Linked DNA regions of Homo sapiens: region 1 is linked to region 2. Evidence: promoter capture Hi-C in 16 types of primary human blood cells and fetal thymus (Javierre and others, 2016). All regions are on one chromosome and are shown on one strand. Each heading gives the region's core, a stretch centred on a gene start or on the middle of the fragment in contact. The rest is flanking DNA. Distances are from core to core; before and after follow the strand shown. Region 1 overlaps INSR (insulin receptor). Region 2 holds the start of CLEC4G (C-type lectin domain family 4 member G).

Region 1 (2,896 bases), core at 355-2,854, 590 kb before region 2:
GGATTACAGGAGTCCGCCACCATGCCCAGCTAATTTTTGTATTTTTAGTAGAGACGGAGTTTCGCCATGTTGGCCAGGCTGGTCTCAAACTCCTGACCTCAGGTGATCTGCCCACCTCAGCCTCCCAAAGTGCCAGGATTACAGGCATGAGCCACCGCACATGGCTCTTTTTTTTTTTTTTTGCTGTTATAAATATTCCTTTGATCATTGTCTGATTGTCTTATTACTTCCCCAAAGTAGATTCCTAGAGGAAAATATTACTAGGTTCAGGGAGATAAGAAACTCTTTAAGCTTCTTAATACCTACAGCTAAATGGTTGTCCAGAAACTCTATATTGACTTGTGGTTGCACCAGCAGGCCATGAGACTGCATTCCAGGACAATCTCAGCAACCCCTAAGCCTTAATAGTTTTTTTTTTTCTTTCTATGTTTGTTTGTCTAGATCTTTAACCCAAGAGATTAAAAATATGCTATCACTCGACTACGTTATTTGCGGATCTTTATATTACTGAGTGTGACTTCATTTTTCCTTTATTGGTTCTCTGTGATTCTCCAAAGAATTGTCCCCTCCTTGTCTTTTGTCTGTTTTTCCATGAATTTCTTGTGTTTTCCTTACTCCTGTGTTGTTTATTCATTAAGGATATTAACCTTTTATGTATCGTGCTATACAACTTACTCTTTTCCATTTGCCAGTAAGCTTTCTTTAAATGATTTGAAACAGGCTTTCATGTTTATTTGTACAATTTAATATATCAGTAACACTTTAAAACGTGTTCCTTTATAAGTCATTCTAGATGGGGTTATTATGAGTTGTGCTAAGGTTTTACGGCAATTTTGAAAGGGATCTTTTCCCTTATTTTATATTCTAATTATTGCTTGTGTATCTACAGTCTTTTTGCTTATTTCTATGTACCTACTTTCCCAAACTCTAACTCATTTAAAAAGTTTCATAATTGGCTTTCCTGGGTTTTCAATGACACACTAGAAGAGGGGTCAACAAAATTTTCCCGTAAAGGGCTAGATAATAAATATTTTGGGTTTTGCAAGCCAAATGACCTCTGTCACAACTACTCTGTCATTGTAGCTTAAAGCAGCCCTACATGATGTGTAAACAAGTGGGTGGGGTTGCATTCCAATAAGAGTTCATTTACAAAAACAGGCAGCTAGCCCATGGGCCATAGTTTGCCTACCCTTGAGCTAGACGCTCTGCAAATAGCAATGACTTTATTTCCCACATTCCATTCTTTACAACTCTGATTTCTGTTTCTTGTCTTATTACATTGGCTGGATGCCCAGAGAAATGTTAATTAGTAATGATGAGATGGGGCTTCCTTGTTTTGTTCCTAACTCTGCTAAGAATAATTTTAAGAATGATGTTAGCTTGGCTGTTGGTTTAACCTAGGTAATATTTATCTTGTAGAAGAAATATTCTATTATGAGTTTTATGAAGCCTCTTTTTTTCCTCCCCTTTCTCTAAGTTAGGAATTTTAAATTAAGGTTATTGAAACAGATATGATCTTCCTTATTGCACCTCTTGATGAACTAGATGATGTTATCAAATCTTCTGATCTTAAACCATCCTTGCATTTTGGAGATAAACAATATTGCCAGTGCAGTGTTTTATTTGGGACATTTGAATCTAACATCACATATTAGCTTGGCCTGTGGCTTTTGTTCAGTGCAGTATCTTTGTCAAGTTCTTTTTTTTTTTTTTTTTTTTTTGAGACAGAGTTTTGCTCTGTTGCCAGGCTGGAGTGTGCAATGGCGCAACCTCGGTTCACTGCAACCTCTGCCTCCCAGGTTCAAGCGATTCTCCTGGCTCAGCCTCCCAAGTAGCTGGGATTACAGGCGTGTGCCACCATGTCTGGCTAATTTTTGTATTGTTAGTAGAGACAGTGTTTCACCATGTTGACCAGAATGTTCTCAATCTCTTGACCTTGTGATCCGCCCCCCACCTCAGCCTCCCAAAGTACTGGGATTACAGGCATGAGCCACCATGCTCAACCTCTTTGTCAAGTTCTTTAAGGGTGTTATGTTCATTTCATAAAATGAACTGGGATAACTTTTATAGATTTCTGTGCCCTAAAATAGTTTTTCTATTATAGGAAATAGTTGCTCTCTCACAATTTGAAAGAACGTGTCTATAAAACTCTCTGGGCCAAGGGACTTTTTTGAGGAAATTATTTGACACATATCTTTTTCCAAGGTTCATAACCACTTAATTTTTCTGCTTCTTTTTGAATCCATTTAGACAAGTTAAATTTTCCCACCTTACTGAAACTTTCAAATTTAGCAAGTGCACCATTGTCCAAAGAACTTAACACATTAAAATTTTCTTCAGACGCTAGTTTTATGTCATCTTCTTTCCTTCTGGTTTGTGTTTTCCCTTTGATTATGTTTACCATAGGCTTAGCTGTTATTGCTTTTCCCTTCCTAACACATTTATAGTTTTATAGTTTAAAGTTTATTTCTTAATTTATCAATCCATTTAAGTCTGCTAAGTAACATCAAAGCCAAGCTTTGACAATATTCTACAAGTTAAGGTATGTGATATTCACATTTTCATTATTTTCCAAAAGGACTTCAATGGAAGTTTCCATTTCTGCTTTGGCCCGATAGATATGTAAGTGTTTAACTTTTTAACTTTTTTTTTTTTTAGACAGAGTCTCGCTCTGTTGCCCAGGCTGGAGGGCAGTGGCGTGATCTCGGCTCACTGCAACCTCCACCTCCCAGGTTCAAGTGATTCTTCTGCCTCAGTCTCCTGAGTAGCTGGGACTACAGGCGCACGTTACCACATCTGGCTAATTTTTGTATTTTTAGTAGAGAAGGGGTTTCACCATATTGGCCAGGCTGGTCTCAAACTCCTGACCTCAGGTGATCCGCCTGCCTGGGCCTCC
Region 2 (2,700 bases), core at 1-2,500:
CTGGGAGCCGCAGGGTGAGAGGGGCGAGGGCGGCGAGGATGGGGCGGGACTTCGGAGACCAGCCCCCGCCCCGCACCACCCGCCGCAGGCCTCCGCCCCGGCCCCCCTCCCATCGCGGCCGCAAGACCCCATCCCTGCGCCCACAGCCTCGACCGCGCCCCCTCACAGCAGCTGTGGCAGTCTCCGACCTCCTCCTTCAGGGCACCCAGCGCCGCCGTCTGCTTCGAGGCTGGAACGACCCCCGCCCCAAAATGCATGCCCCTCGGGTCACTTGGGAGGACTCAGGGGACCCCCTTCCAGCCTCAGGGACCATAGGGCCCCCACGCACTCGAGACTCCATCTCCGGGGTCTCAGAAACTCCCGCCCCTCACGCCCCGGGGGCCCAGGCGCCCGGCTCTGCACACACCGTTTGTCCTCAGCAGGTCGTGGCCGTCAAGCAGCGCCGCGCGCTCCGTGGAGGCTGAGGAGAGAGGCTCCTGCAGGCGAGGCCGGGAACTCGGGAATCCTCCCCTCGCCCGGGGGGTGCAGCGTCCCCCAACTCGGGAGCACGGAGCGGGCGGGCAGGCATACAGCTCACACGATGTGCACACACGCCGATGGGAGACAAACGCGCGGGGACTCGCGCACATACGAGCACGCCATGTGCACACGCGTGAGTGCACACGGCCCAAAGATGTACACACACTCTGCTCACACTCAGACGCGAACAGGACCCCAGGATGCAGCTGGTGCGCCATGCAGTGGGGGTTTTCTGTCCCCAGGGGGGCCGGATGCAACACCTCCCCATTGAGAGTCACTCACCCTTGGACAATAGGATACTCAGAATCACAGCCCAAAGGACTGTGGTGACCAGGACAGCCAGGGCCAAGAAGAGGGGTCTCCTGCTCCAGTGCACCCAGCGTCCCCAGGGCCCTGGCATAACAAGGACGGCATGCTGGGTCCCCCAGAACTGAGCCCTGGAGGCCTGAGTTACTCCCAGGAAACTGAGATTCAGAGAAGTTAAGTAACTTGCCTATGGTCACACAGCTTCTAAGCGGCAGAGTTGGAATTGGACCCTGGTCCAACTGGCTCTATGGCCTGTGGTGTCTCTCCTGCACCCACAACCCTGGCCTGTCTCGACTCTTCCCTCCCCTCCCCCATCAAACCCCAGACACTGGGGCAGGGATGGGGCAGTCTCCTTGCTCATACCTCCGGGGACCTCCTCGGAGCTGCCGCCCCACTTGCTGTACCTGGTGGTGTCCATGGCGATGCAGGCACCCAGTCCTGGGCAGAGATATAAATTTCACGCCTGTTCTCACTGGACCTACGCACTCCCTTCCTTCCTTCCCATTTTCTTGGCCTTAATTCCTGGCAACGGGAACCCATGGACCAATCACAGGATTGGGCCCTTTCAAGGCTGGGCTGGGCTGGGCTGGAGTGAGGCCGGGCGGTTCCAGCCTCCTGGTTCTGGCCACTGCAGCTCCATCCCCAGGCTGGTGCTGGAGGCTTCTCTTTGGAGCTTAGTCACCATCTCTTATGGGCCTGGGGCTGGAGGCTTCTCTTTGGAGCTTAGTCACCATCTCTTATGGGCCTGGGGCTGGGTTTTATCCCGCGAGGGACACACTGAACCCGACCAAATTGTAACCCCTGCTGGCTCCTGAGAAAGCCCCCTCAGGCATAGCCCCCCAGGCCAGTTCAGGTCCCTTCTCAACTCCCCTGCAGGTGCCTGCAGAGGCTGGGTTTGAACCTGACCTTGATCCAGTCCCTCTGTACCAGAAGGGAACAAACAGTTTTGTTAGGGAGGTAGCCGGCGGAGCTGCAGGACTCTACCACTGTATGGGTTCTAGGTAGCTTCTAGAAGCCTTAGTTTTCCCCACTGTAAAGGAGATAGCGATGGGCCTCTCTCACAAAGATGCTATGATAAAGAAACAAGACAGTCTTGCTGGCTCACACCTGTAATCCCAGCACTTTGGGAGGCCGACATGGAAGGATCACTGAGCCCAGGAGTTCCAGACCAGACCAGCCTGGGCAATATAACAAGACCCTCATTTCTGAAAAAAAAAAAAAAATATATATATATATATATATATGAAAACAAAAATTGAAAAAATAAAAAAATAAAGACAATGAGGTTATACATGTCTACCTAGCACCATTTCAGGCATATCAAAAACACTCAGTGTTCATGCATTCTTTCAACAAACATTGAGCACCTGCCATATGCCAGGCATTGATCTTGGAACTGGGGCCACATCAGAGAGTAAAATAAGCAAATTCCTCTCTTCTTGGAGCTAATATTCTAGAAGTGTGGGGAGACAGACTCCATACTCAACGTAATAAACATAATTGAAAACATAAGTTGTATAGCATAGTAGTTCCCAGCTGGGGGCAATTACGCCCACCAGGGGACATTTGGCTATGTCTGGAGACACTTTTGGTTGTCACAGAATGTGTGTGTGTGTGTGTGTGTGTGTGTGTGTGTGCTCCAGGCATCTAGTGGGTAGAGGCCAGGGATGCTGCGCAAAGCCCTACAATGCCTAAGACATCCCCCATAGCAAAGAATGATCTGACTCCTAATGTCCATAGTGCAAAAGGTGGGAACCGTAGTATACTCTATTCAAAAGTCATAAATGCTATGAAAAAACATTAAGGGAAGAAAAAATCCAGTAGGATAAGTACTTGGCAGGACTGGGATGGGCACTAGGCAGTGGGCAGTGGCTA

The links. Contacts are between HindIII fragments. The CHiCAGO score rates a contact against its expected background, and 5 or more counts as called.
Region 1: a fragment that was not itself captured here is called in contact with the fragment with the promoter of CLEC4G in region 2 in 1 of 17 cell types (erythroblasts); the score reaches 6.5 in erythroblasts.

The regions. Positions count from the first base shown.
Region 1 is chr19:7,144,538-7,147,433 of GRCh38, forward strand. All of the region lies in intron 11 of INSR (insulin receptor), which reads right to left. Among named protein-coding and RNA genes, the nearest start is that of ZNF557, 76 kb to the left of the region's middle. The HindIII fragment of the contact is 1,821 bases long and covers 695-2,515 here.
Region 2 is chr19:7,730,860-7,733,559 of GRCh38, forward strand. CLEC4G (C-type lectin domain family 4 member G) reads right to left here and starts at 1,251. Exons shown (of 9, transcript NM_198492.4): 1 at 1,189-1,251; 2 at 802-912; 3 at 407-460; 4 at 167-229. The coding sequence starts at 1,243. RefSeq lists promoters at 1,246-1,852, 1,246-1,558, 1,246-1,509 and a cis regulatory region at 1,316-1,325. The HindIII fragment of the contact is 11,720 bases long and covers 1-2,700 here.